3 separate regions of the Homo sapiens genome follow, and all the other regions are linked to region 2. Evidence: promoter capture Hi-C in 16 types of primary human blood cells and fetal thymus (Javierre and others, 2016). All regions are on one chromosome and are shown on one strand. Each heading gives the region's core, a stretch centred on a gene start or on the middle of the fragment in contact. The rest is flanking DNA. Distances are from core to core; before and after follow the strand shown. Region 1 overlaps KCNJ8-AS1 (KCNJ8 antisense RNA 1). Region 2 holds the start of C2CD5 (C2 calcium dependent domain containing 5). Region 3 overlaps KCNJ8-AS1 (KCNJ8 antisense RNA 1).

Evidence for each region. Contacts are between HindIII fragments. The CHiCAGO score rates a contact against its expected background, and 5 or more counts as called.
Region 1: a fragment that was not itself captured here is called in contact with the fragment with the promoter of C2CD5 in region 2 in 1 of 17 cell types (non-activated CD4 T cells); the score reaches 5.4 in non-activated CD4 T cells.
Region 3: a fragment that was not itself captured here is called in contact with the fragment with the promoter of C2CD5 in region 2 in 6 of 17 cell types (non-activated CD4 T cells, activated CD4 T cells, total CD4 T cells and 3 more); the score reaches 10.1 in non-activated CD4 T cells.

The regions. Positions count from the first base shown.
Region 1 is chr12:21,680,011-21,684,293 of GRCh38, reverse strand. The region is part of intron 1 of KCNJ8-AS1 (KCNJ8 antisense RNA 1); the gene reads right to left. Among named protein-coding and RNA genes, the nearest start is that of KCNJ8-AS1, 20 kb to the right of the region's middle. The HindIII fragment of the contact is 4,552 bases long and covers 1-3,541 here.
Region 2 is chr12:22,541,635-22,546,353 of GRCh38, reverse strand. C2CD5 (C2 calcium dependent domain containing 5) reads left to right here and starts at 1,812. Exons shown (of 27, transcript NM_001286176.2): 1 at 1,812-2,034; 2 at 2,175-2,293. The coding sequence starts at 2,204. RefSeq lists enhancers at 1,682-1,911, 3,052-3,571 and a silencer at 2,052-2,171. The HindIII fragment of the contact is 7,848 bases long and covers 1-4,719 here.
Region 3 is chr12:21,697,510-21,702,133 of GRCh38, reverse strand. All of the region lies in intron 1 of KCNJ8-AS1 (KCNJ8 antisense RNA 1), which reads right to left. Among named protein-coding and RNA genes, the nearest start is that of KCNJ8-AS1, 38 kb to the right of the region's middle. The HindIII fragment of the contact is 529 bases long and covers 2,146-2,674 here.

The DNA of each region.
Region 1 (4,283 bases), core at 16-2,515, 860 kb after region 2:
CCTGGGTGGACTTCAATGGAGAATAATCTCCTCAATCCCATCCTGACTGACTGGGTTTTGCATCATCTGTGTGACCCCAGAGACCAGCATTAGCAAGCCTCAAGTTAGAAGTTTTTAGCAAATGTAGGTTCTGTGATGCCTTTGAGCTAAGGTGCACTAGATGATAGGGGAGTAATAGTTGTTTCTTATTTAATTTGATGTGGAAATAAGAATGGAATGAAATGGCTATCAATACAATTTCAGAAGTCTTCTAAAGGCACTGTCTTCCTTGATGGTTCTTATTGCAAGGCAACTGATCTGAAGTAGACTGAAGAGGGAGGCTGGCTTTAGAAACAGAGACTAAAAAGTGGGGACACTGGGCCAGGTGCAGTGGCTTATGCCTGTAATCCCAGCACTTTGGGAGGCCAAGGCAGGCTGATCATGAAGTCAGGAGTTCAAAACCAGCCTGGCCAGCATGGTGAAACCCCATCTCTACTAAAAATACAAAAAATTAGGCTGGCATTGTGGTACACGCCTGTAGTCCCAGCTAGTTGGGAGGCTAAGGCAGGAGAATTGCTTGAACCCAGCAGGCAGTGGTTGCAGTGAGCCAAGATTGTGCCACTGCACTCCAGCCTGGGTGACAGAGCATCTCAAAAAAAAAAAAAAAAAAAAAAAAAAAAGTGGGGACATCTGAGTTACTTAAGAGTGAAGAATCAAGAGAACTTAAGTGAAGTACAAAAGAACAACAAAACAAAACAAAAATAAGAATAGGAAACAGAGAAGAAAATGACTGCAAACTAGATTCTTTAATCCCCAAAGATTCATTTATAGGAACACAAAACAAATTTTACTTTTGTGTTCAGGGCCAGCCATAAAGATCCGTCCTTAAAGAGAGTGAGACGAAGGGCACATTGCAACAGAAAGGTGGATGCATACAGAGTTATATAATTTTGCAGCCATTCCACACACCTTGGCAAGGGCCGATGGTTTCAAAATCCAAGAATAGCTCCACATGTGATCTCTGACTGATTGGGAAGAGGAATATGCCTGGCATGGCAAGAGAAGAGCACTCCCAAAAATGATGAGCAAGAAAATCATTTTCTCTGCTAGAAATAGGTCAGAGAACTTTCCAGTGATGAGATCTGGAGATTCAGAAATCAATGGTGGTCACTATTTTGCTGCTTTTTAAAAGGCAGAGGGCTGTTAATACCATTCATCTCATTTATTCAAACAAACACATTATTTGAAAATACATTGTTTTCCAAGCCCTGTACTAGACACAGAGAATACACTACTGGGCAAAAGAGGAATGGATTCTGAGGACAGGTAGAGTATCCCTTCTTTCTCTATCAGTAAGTCAGTTCTCCAGACCTATTTACTGAGAGGCCAGACAAAGGATTTTTCTAGGCTCACCTTTCTTAGCTGCCTCTTCTAACAATCCCTGTGAAGTAGAGTTTAAAGTTGACTGAGTCCATAAGAGATTAATGTACAGTAATTAAGGATGTAAAACAATGTTCTCCAATGGCCAGAATTCTTTACTCTGCAGAATTTATGATATATGGCAATGAAAATAACTAAAACCTTCAAAAATTTAGTACTCAAAACAGGACAAAAGAGCTAGATGAAACTTGTCTGCTTTACCACCACTACTATAGTCACTTTAATCCCAAGATAGGTAACTCAAGATTGGCTTCAGCTGTTTTGTCTAGGCTGAAGGGCAATTTATATTATGAAAAAAAAATGACAGTATCAAAGAATAAGTTCAGTTGTCTGCTTTATTCCATAAATATAAATTAAGCCATTAAAAGTAAGTTAGCTCCTAGAAAATGAGCAGCTTTTTGTCTGTGAAAACTGGTATCAAAATTAAAGAAACAGGAAAAAACAGCCCCACTTAACAAAAAAAGATACAATATCCAAGAACCATTAAATGCTCAGATTATGAGTAGATACTTTTCATCCAGAATTGATGACCAAGCATGGGTCAGGCTAGTCAAATACTCCTGAGGTTCCCAGAACATATCTGGGAGCAGAATATCCCAGGTAAGTGTGAAAGCAATGTGCCAACAAAGACTTTCGTTCCTCAAATGCCCCAGCACTTTAATGTTGAATTGTGATTTTTTTCTACTCTCAGCTTTGGCCTTGTTTTTGTGCCTGTACCTGCTTCAGACAGATCTTCACAAATAGTGCCTTTGGTCAGTTAACCATAGGTGGTATGAGGTCTAGATTGCGCAAAACTAACAAGAACTTGAAGACAACTATCTTATAAAACTGAAATCAAAGGGCTTAAAGGACATTCAGTTTGTTGATAAAGTAGATATCACCTTGTAGAAACTCAAAAGGCCATATATAAGGAACATGAATAAACATTTTTATTTATTTATTATTTTTGTTTTTTGAGATAAAGTCTCACTTACTCTGTCACCCAGGCTGGAGTACAGTGGCTCAACTCACTACAACCTCCGCCTCCCCAATTCAAGCGATTCTCCTGTCTCAGCCTCCCAGGTAGCTGGGATTACAGGCACCCGCCACCACACCTGGCTAATTTTTTTTTTTTTTTTTTGAGACGGGGTTTCACTCTGTCGTCCGGACTGGAGTGCAGTGGTATGATCTCGGCTCACTGAAACCTCTGCCTCCCAGGTTCAAGCAATTCTCCTGCCTCAGGCCTCCCAAGTAGCAGGGACTAAAGACGTATGCCACTATGCCCAGCTAATTTTTGTATTTTTAGTAGAGAAGGGGTTTCACCATGGTGGCCAGGTTGATCTTAAACCCCTGACTTCAAGTGATTTGCCCACCTTGGCCTCCCAAAGTGCTGGGATTTAGGTGTGAACCACCGACCATGCCTGGCCTGATTTGTTTGTTTTTTGTCATTGAGATTGGGAGGAGGGATAGGAGTTGGTGTTTAAAGATATCACCTAATCATTTCCTTGCATACACAGGAAACATAAAACACAATTTTCCCTCATGTTGGAAGTTGAGTGCTCTCAGGGCATAGAGTGAAGGAAAGTCCTCATTTTGCCCTAAGCAAATGTTTCCTGGGTATGTGGCTCCAAGGGAAGATGCCAATGCTAAGTTCTCTAAGAGTACTAGCAAAATGCTTCTTGCACATCATAACTGCTTCATAGCTATCTCTTCAGTACTTTTTCCCTGGTGATCCCTAACCAAGGCTCCCACAATGGGAGCATCAGAGCTTGCACATTGGCCTTGCAGAAGCTATACCACCACCACCACCACACAAAAGACTTGGATTAAGATCCCAAATGCCTCCCCCAATAAGAGCCGTTTCAAATCTCCAAACTATTGTCTTTATTATCATAGTTTCCATAAACAACCGTAATTAAATGCATACTAGGTACTAGTGTTTTACATTTAGTAACGCTAATCTTCAGAATTTTCCAGTTTATAAAAGAGTTAACTGAGGCTTAGAAGGTTTAAGCAATTTACCTAAAACTACAAAGTTAGCAAGTAGTGGAGTCTTGGTTGAACTATATGTCTCAGTCTTAAACTTATCTTCTTAGTAACTCGACGTCTAATGAGAAGATAAGCAAAACAACAATTTTAAGCTTATGAAAATCAATAAAAAATCATAAATTAACAGAAAAATACAAATTTTCAGCACTGCTGCTACATTTTCCAGTTCCCTTTGTCTCTAGCTGTGAATGATTTCACGGAAAGAATAGAGATGAATACGTTCGGACTGAAATAGAAAATGTTGGAAGCACTCATTTAACATTGTGCACAGTATTTCTAGAGAACTTCCAGCAGGTGGCAGTATTTAAGAACATTACTGGTAGTCACAACTTTGGCAGCTATTGCTGCAAAGAGAGATTGGGTGTCAAAAGTCTTTTTTTTTTTTTTTTTGAGACGGAGTCTCGCTCTGTGGCCCAGGCGGGAGTGCAGTGGCGCAATCTCAGCTCACTGCAAGCTCCGCCTCCCGGGTTCACGCCATTCTCCTGCCTCAGCCTCCCGACTAGCTAGGACTACAGGCGCCCACCATCACGCCCGGCTAATTTTTTTGTATTTTTTTTAGTAGAGACGGGGTTTCACCGTGTTAGCCAGGATGGTCTCGATCTCCTGACCTCGTGATCCGCCCGCCTCGCCTCCCAAAGTGCTGGGATTACAAGCGTGAGCCACCGCGCCCGGCCCAAACAAAAGTCTTTAAACTTCGGCCCAAACTTGAATTTCCAGTTATTTTATTCATTGTCCTTGGAAAGTTTCAAGAGCTAAAACATTACCTTTTTCTTATAATTGTTTAATTTGAGGTTCACTTTAACTTGCAGATATGGAACAGTGGTTTCAATAAATTA
Region 2 (4,719 bases), core at 563-3,062:
CAGAAAAAGCTGCAGGTGGACCTAAGGAAATTCGCATGGGATCTATGACCCCTATTCCTTTGACATAGTTTGAATTGATAAAAGTTTCTCTAGTCCAAAAAGCAAGCGATTTTTTTAGATTTTTATTTTGAGGAAGTCGTTTTCTCTGTAGGAGTTCAATTTCTCACTTATGTGAACAATATTCCTGCCATAGAAGGAATTTTTGTCATGAAAAGATAATTCGGGATCACTACTGTTTGGAGTATTTACTCTATTGAGTATTTTCGAAGTTAAAAAGATCATACGGATATCTTCACTTAGGAATGAAATGTTACAATCTTTGAGCCGGCATGAACTCTGATTTTGTTGATACTGGGTATACTGTCAATGCTGATTTTGATATTTGGTAAGGACTGATTTATTTACATCTTGTGTGTGCCTCAATTTCCCTAATATGGTCTGAGCCTGTAGATAACACCTTACTTTATTTATAGTTGGGTCAATTCTTCAAGATGTTTAACGCTCTCCATGTTTATTTCTTGTGGTTGACTATACTTTCCATGGTAGGAAGTCCTGAACTTCTGCTACTACTGTAGGTCTTATCTTTAGGCTTGTGGATGCTTAATAAGAACACTGAGATGATCTAAGAGTGCAGGACATTTAATTAAAAAAAAATTTTTTTTAAGAGACAGAGTTTTGCTCTGTTGCCCAGGTTGGGGTGCAGTGGTGAGATGGCAGCTCACTGCAGCCTCAAACTCCTGGGCTCAAGCAATTCTCCCAGATTCTCCCACCTCAGCTTCCTAGGTAGCTGAGACCACAGACGAGCCACCGGCCCAGCTAATTTTTGCATTTCTTGTAAAGAAGGGGTCTTACTGTGTTGCCTCGTCTCCATGAGGCTGGTCTCGAACTCCTGGACTCAATCGATCCTCCCACCTCAGCCTCCCACAGTGCTGGGATTACAAATCTGAGCCACCACACCTACCAGCAGAAACTTTTTTTCAAGAGGAGACTTTGGATTTCAAGGTGACCTCCCCCACCCCGCCCACAGTAATATCTGTGACCCAGTGCACAACACAAGTGCCTATGACTGAATAAAATATTTCACTAAATATTTATTTCACTATTCGAGATGTGCCTGGTATCTCTATTTCTTTCTTTCTTTTTTTTCTTTTTTTGGAGACAGAGGAGTGATCTCGGCTCACTGCAACCTCCGCCTCGCAGGTTCAAGCGATTTTCCTGCCTCAGCCTCCTGAGTAGCTGGAATTAGAGGCGCTCGCCACGACGCCCAGCTAATTTTTGTATTTTTAGTAGAGACGGGGTTTCGCCATGTTGTCCAGGCTGGTCTTGAACTCCTGACCTCAGGTGATCCGCCCGCCTCGGCCACCCAAAGTGCTGGGATTACAGACGTGAGCCACTGTGCCTGGCCATCTAACTCTATTTCACAGAAAACTGGAACCACCACACGCACCTGTACCCCTTCCAAGTAGAAACCAGCTAATTTGGTTTTACGAATCACTAAAGGCCGACTGAAAACGCTCTTCTAGCAGTCTTCGCTGCTACTCCATCTATCACAGCCCATCCGAAAAGCGGCGGTAGCAGCTGGGAAGGCCGCGGCCGGAGGCTGTCACAGAGCAGCACTCGCGCTTCGGCCCGCAAGATGGAGCGTTTCCCTCCAGGGAAGCAGCGCCGCACCTATCCACAGCCCCCACTCGGTGGATGATGCAGGACTCGGCCCATTTCCCTGCCCTCCAGCTTTCTCAACGTCAGCCCCGCCCCCTTATCTTTCCTCGGCGAGTTTAGTTTCGCCCCGCCAAGTGGGCAGAGCGCCGAACGATCGATGCTTTCTTCCGCGCCCCGAGAGCCGCCATTTTTGAGAGCGGGGGAGGAGAGACAAGCAGGGGCGGCAGAGGCTCAACGGGATGCTGACTGGGTTTTGCTTTTCGTCCCAGCCTTGTGGGGCCGGGACGGAAGAACCCATCAAAGCCCTTCCTCCCGCCGCCTCTCCGGAATGAGGTCTCAGCACCCGCGCGGGACAGCACCCTTCCTCCTGCGACAGTGAGTGGCGACCCGTGGCGCGACTGCCGGGCGCCCGCGCGCGCCCCCGCGCGCTCCTTCGCTGTCAGTTACCCCGCGCGCCTCCGCCCCTCTCCCGCCGGCCCCGCGCTCGGCGCAGACTCGTTTGTTTGTTTCTGCAGGAGCCCAAGAAGAGGCCGAAACCGAGACCATGCCAGGGAAGCTGAAGGTGAAAATCGTGGCCGGGCGCCATTTGCCAGTGATGGACCGTGCTAGTGACCTGACTGATGCCTTCGTGGAGGTTGGTGCAGGGTCCTGCCCCTCAAAACACAGGGAGCGCCAAGCCCTGTGAAGGATCTACCCACCTCGCCCCCAGCCCCTCAGCCTATTCCCCCCTCGACTGCCCTCCCTTCGGCCGTGGTTGTCCAGCTCTCCCACGAGGGATGACCGCCGAGACCTCAGTGTGTGCGATGGGTGCACGGCTTGCAGGCGTCCGCGGCACAGTCCGCTGCGCGGGGAGGCTTGTACTGTTGTGCATGCGGGGGTGACCCTGATGTCAGGACTCATTAACAGGCCACCTGCCACTCAGGAGATCCCAAGGCGTGGCCGCGCAGCCACCGACACACTCACACACATACACACACACACACACAAATGCCGGAATGACTCTGATGTCAGGACTCATTAACAGGCCACCTGCCACTCAGGAGATCCCAAGGTGTGGCCCCGCAGCCACTGAAACACACACACACACAGGCACACACACACCCTTGGAAGGGGTGGCCAGAGTGCTGGACATCATGTTTAAGAAGGTGCATGAAGCCCTTTATGGGCACTTGGAGTCCCACAGTGCGAGGAAATCCACTCTCATGCCTAACATTTTGTGAATCTGCCATGCACGTTCTAAAACACAACTGCAACACTTCCTGCTCTTGTATAGGCTGGTAGGTCTGATGAGGTGTTTCAGGGTAATTTAGCGCCTTGAGGTAGGAAGTCATTTAATTGCCATGGACTTAAATTGCAAAATTGCTTTTTAAGTCTAATGATTAGTTTAAAAGTCATGCAAATTAGTAAAGGCCTACGGCCGGAAGGTAATAACCCAGAGTCTGAAAGAAGCCAAGTAAAGATTGTAATAAAAATTGGCGTGATGAGCCAGAGCATTAGAGCAGCAATCATTTGGGCTATTAGTGCTTAGAATTGATGGATAGATATATCATAATATATAGCTCGATTTCATCTCAATATTCCTGATGTTTCCTAAATGTTCTCTAACCGAATAATTACAGTTCACTGCCTCCCCTGCCCATTGTCATGGTGATTCTTAATCACTTCATTTGAGAAAGTTCTTGAGTGCTCTTGTGCCAGATGTTAGGTGATAGGAATCCACAAATAACTAAAACATAGTGTTTGCTTTCCGGTAGTTCAGACATTGACCCACACAGCCTATTTAATAACTAATAGGTAACGTGTTGAATTTAATAATTGCCAGATCTGTACTAAGTACTTTTAAATTCTTAGTTTTCACAACAGTCCTGCTATAGGAGTATTGTTATTGTCCCATGTTACAGTGGATGTAACTGAGGCCCAGGAAGGGTAAATAATTTGCTTAAGGTTACATAGCTTGCAAACCTCCACAGCCTGACAGTTTGTTCTCTTAACCACTCTGCTAATACGGCCTCACCAAAGTGATGAGTATTGTATTAGAATATGGAAAGAATTCTGTCTCTGAAGGTTGAGAAAGGCTTCTTGTGAAAGTGACATTTGAAGTGGGCCTTGAAGGACACCCAGGATTTTACCAGGCAAAGGGAACATCAAAGGCAAAGGCATAGACTGGGATATATAGTATGTTCAGGAAACTGCCTTAGTTTAGTACGTGTCTGGAGGAAAGGGTATGAGATATGTGGGTAGTGGAGCTTGTTAGGGATGAGGCTGGAAAGCCCCATTTTCTATAAAACCTCATTTTCTGTAATATTTATAAGGAGCGACAAGGAAGCTGAATGCAGGTCACTGCAGCCTCCAACTCCTGGCCTCAAGCCATCCTCCTGCCTCTCCCGCTTCGGCCTCCCAAAGTGCTGGGATTATGGGCCTGAGCCACCACGCCTGGCCAGGGGAGTTTTTTAAGCAGAAATAAAATAAGATCATGTTTGTATTAGTTTGTTTCTTTATAGGATGGCCTGAATGGGGATGCTATTGATGGACTAGACAGATGGGAAGTGTGGCAGGGAGATCAGTTAAGAAGGTGGTAAAATTATCCAGGTAATATGTGGGAATGGGAATAGGAATGGATTTGAACAGAAAGATTTGTGGGACATTTCTTAGGTTAAAATAGTCAGGCCTTGATAACTAGGTGGATTTTGCTGGTGAGGAAGGGGGCTGATTCAGGGGTTACTTATTACTTCCTTCTTTGAACAAATTGAGTGTCTGCCGTTTGCCAGGCTCTGGGCTAGTTACTGGTCTAGCCGATGTATATACATGGTGAATAAGACAGACTTGGTTCCTTCTCTTAATTCAGCTTATATTTTAGTGGGAGAGACAGATGTTTAAAAGGTAAATAAATTATTAAATATATAGTTACAAGTTGGGATGGGTGCCATGAAAGGGAACAATAGAAAGAGAACAACAGGGAACACCTACTTTAGGTTGAGTAATCAGGGGAGGCCCCTGAGAAAAGTGTTTGTCAAAACCAAGATCTGCTGGATGAGAAGGAGCCTGCTGCTGAGGGAGCAT
Region 3 (4,624 bases), core at 1,161-3,660, 840 kb after region 2:
GAGTTCGAGACTAGCCTGACCAACATGGAGAAACCCCGTCTCTACTAAAAATACAAAAAAATCAGCCAGGTGTGGTGCTGCATGCCTGTAATCCCAGCTACTCGGGAGGCTGAGGCAGGAGAATCGCTTAACCCAGGAGGCGGAGGTTGTGGTGAGCCGAGATCGTGGCATTGCATAAAGGCCCTACCCTCATAACCTAATCTAATCCTAATTATCTCCCAGAGGCTCTGTCTCCAAATATTATCACATTGGGGGTTAGGGCTTCAATGTTTGAATTGGAACAGGAGGGCCACAAACATTCGGTCCATAACAGAGAGGATTATACAGGGTGTACACTCTCAGGAGTAGAAATTTGGGGGACTATCGTAGAATGCTGCCTACCACATACCTTTTAAACATGTGCAGTTTATGTCCACACAAAACATCAATGTACAAAAAAGACAAAATGACATAAGGGAAAGAAAATTATATTATCATCAGACTTCTGGACAGCAATGTATTATCCCAGAAAAAAGTAGAATAAACTTGAAGATACATACATATGTATGTATGCCGTGGATTTTATGTCCAACAAAATTTACCTTCAAGTATAAAGGGCACACATGAATTTTTATCAGCATGCAAAAACTGAAGGAATGTTGTTTCTATTTTCCTCCTTAGGAATCTACTATGGTAGGTACTTTAGACAACCAAAATGAATAGAAAATTATCGGTATGAGGACTGAAGAGGAGTATTAAACATATAGTTACTTGTAGAGCCAGATGAAGTGAAGATTAAAGGAAGAGAGTATAATATATAATGGTTTTATATTTAAGCAAAGTAGTGAAGTTATAAAAAATTGACATAATGTGTAGAATATGCAAAATATATTTGAACAATTCTCAGTAATTTTTCATGGTGGAGATTTTGGTATGGTTATTTTAAGACTATTCTGTTTATAACATGGGATAAAGTAATAATTACGGGAAATTCTAATTTTATTATCTCCTGCATTCATGGGAACCAAGATTCTTGATACAGAAGAAAGTAGTTGTAGTTAAAGTAAAAACAATCCCTGACACACACATCTCTTTCCCTAATTTTAATTGGAAATATATCAGTAAGATCTGATAAACTATTTTGTATGTACATACAGATATGCCTATGGTATATGTATATGTGTGTCTACATTCATATCTATCAATATTTTCTCTCTTGCGCATCTCTTCCCACAGGAGTCTCTGGCTACATGCTCCCGACAAGACAATCACAAATGTCAATTGCACGTAACTCCTTGCGAAGGACAAATGTTAAGGTTCTTTTCCACTAAGCCCAGTCCATCTCATTTCTCTGGCTTCCCTCATAAAATGATGAACAGTCTTTGCATCCGTCAGTGATAACAGAGTCTCAGCTTCCCATCTCCTGTGAATAAATTCTTGGGGGAGGGAAGCATCTACACACCTATCTAAAACAAAGAGGCCTTAGGCTACATAAATCAAAATATGGGGTAGGGAGGATTTCTAACTTTGCAGAAACAAAGTTCAGCCAATAGATACAATTACTATTACTAAATAGTACACTTAATGCTTCAGTCTGAAGGTACAGTCAATCCTCCATAGCCATGGGTTCCAATGTCTCAGATTCAACCAACCTCAGATTGAAAATATTGTGGACAAAAATATAAAAAATAACAATACAATAATAAAATAATACAAATTTTTAAAACAACATAGTATAACAACTATGTATACATCATTTACATGATATTAAGTATTATAAGTAATCTAGAGATGATTTAAAATATACAAGAGGATGTGCACAGTTGTATGCAAATACTATGCCATTTTGTATAAGGGACTTGAGCATCCACAGATTTTGTTATCCACAAGGGGTGGAGGGTACTGGAACCAACCCCCTTTAGCTACTAGGGAAGAACTGTACTGCATTTTGGTTCCTTCACTGGATTTCAGAGCTTCTCATCCAACATTAGCATTGGGAAACTCCTGGATGAAAGGGAACATCTCCCATAAAAACAAATTCCTGTACCACCATTGCAAGATAGAAAGTGATTACTACTCCCCACATGAAAAATTCTCCAACTTCACCACATCAAAGTCAGGAAGCTATTGAGCATTCAACATTCTAGAATAAGGCAACCCAAAGCTTTCATTGAACAAATATGGTTTGATTGCACAGGTTTGTCAAAGTGCCATGTGGTTTTTGAGTTCCTAAACACCACAATGTCCCCAAGCAAATTTTTAAAACACAAGTTATTCCTTCAGGATGCCAAGATTCCATAGGAACATTATCCTCTATTTCAAAAATAAAGTATAAAGCTATTTGAAAATAAAATATCAATCAGTCAATGCCGAAACTGTAGGAAAGACTGAATGTTGCCTGCCTTTGGAAATCTGTGTCATTCCAGAACATAAAGGCCAATTACCATATCTGCTCAGAAATATATATCAGAAATATATATCAGAGTTGGAAGCTCTTTAGTGGAGATGGATCTTAGAGGCCCCTTTAAGACATAGGCTTTTAGAAACCTTCTATATTAAAGCATGCTCTTACATCCTTCCAATCCTATAACAGAATAAACGTTTCAAAGCACCGACCTGTTAATTACCTTATTTAATCTTCACTATGTTGCATTCATTTGTAATGTTGTTTCTTATTCAATTAAGTAAAGAAGCTTAACTTCTAGATGCATATTATGTGTTTTAAAAGGCTGCAAAAAGCATAAGAATAAAAAATTATTTTCCCCATTAGCTTATCATCAGGAAAATTCCAGACCAAAGAAAGGCATGGAAGTGGATGGTTATGGAGTAAACTTCTGGAAGAAACAAATGTGGAAGACACAGCTTTTCCTCTTTGTAACTTAAGCCAGAATCAACCTACTTTTATCCAGGGGGTAAACTGAGAGAGAAAGAAAACTCTCTATTGACTATTGCGTGCATGCCAAAAGATCATAGACTTTATCTCAATGAACCCCATATAGGCGTTATTATCCCCATTTTATAGATCATGATAAAAACATGCCCACAGCCATATGTGTGGTCTTTGAAAGTACACCATCAAACCCAGACCTATTGATTATAATTATAAGGCCTCTTTTCCTTTCCATGGTATCTCACTGACAAAACCTGTGTTGCCTGGTCTGTGACCACGTCTTGGTTAACTGAAGGAGAACAGAAAATTGTCCTTTTCAGCTGAAACTAAAACCAGATCAACTGACGACTCCAAGATGTTAAAAAATGGTCCAGATAATCCTGACTAAAAATACAATGGACAAACAACTTTATCAATTTCAGACTATTTTTCCCGGTCTCTTGAATTTTGCATGTGAATGTTTCATTTAAAAACAGCCTCATCAAGCAAAGTTTAAAGAAGTGTGTCCAAAAAAATTATAGGTTTTTCCCCCAATCTTTAGAAGATTTTCATTGCTATTGCTACGAAATACAAAAAGTTAAACAAAAAATTTTGTTTTCCAAGCTGAAACATGTATTTGTAAATCCAGGATAGTTAAACAAGAAAACTATTCTTGCAGAAAATATCTGAAAAATGAAATAAGCAATATTAAGACAAACTGAGTAAGGAAGTGGTGATTAAGTGGAGTAAAGACCGAGGTCATGTACATCTGTGCTGTGTAAGGGCCCACTTCATTTTTTGATAACTTCACTTTTTCACCCTTAACAGGGTTAACCCTAGAATGTGACAAGGGTAGCCTATGACAGGCGACATTTTGAAGTCACATTTATACAACCTCTACCCCAAACCCAAAGACCTCTCTCTCTCTGACACAAACACACACGGAAATTTATATACTTTTAATATACACAACCCAAGGTAGTCTTTTACAATTTACCAGAGTCATTTATTACTTAGTGGCATTCCAGCTCTCACACAAAATCACGATATTTCCTGTGCTTCCCTCCATGCACGTTTTGTTCACTTCTTTGCACAAGGGAACTGTGACTCTAGCATGCTGACTTGTCGTAGAAAATAAAGTGGGAATTTTTGGCCATCACTTTTAATTTAGAGCTACTGGTTCATTTCTAGAATAACATTAAACAAGAGAACGATTAAAAAAAAAAAAAAAAGAGAAAGAAATGAATGAATAGGTTATCACTGCCATCTGGTGGTGAAAATGCAAGAAAACAGGATATACATTCTGATAGCTCAAAATAGAATTAGTTTGGGAAAAGCATTGTTTTATAAAATGTCAAAAAATGTTCAGAAGTTTAATTAAGAAATGATTATCAAATGTTTGTGTTACTGATATGACTCAGAGTAGTCGCAATACGGAATATATGATCTCTTCTGATTCACATTTTTTTTTTCTCAATTTCCAGGAACATAGAGGTGTTCCTACTTTTCAGGCCCAAGAACCATAGAAAAAGTTAAATGATCATTGCATCCGTTTCACCTCCCCATGGCACTCCTCCTTCACAGTTGTTATTTCAAGAGAACTAAGTATTTACAATCATGCTATGTGGTGGGCACAGCATACAAAACGGACATCTCATCACCTGCTTGCCTCTATCAGGCTCTGAAGGTGTCTTTCCTAGGAAGTTGTCAACATAATTAAATCAGACAAACTTCAAGATACCATTGCTTTTGACAGTGTGGAGTTTCAACATGACA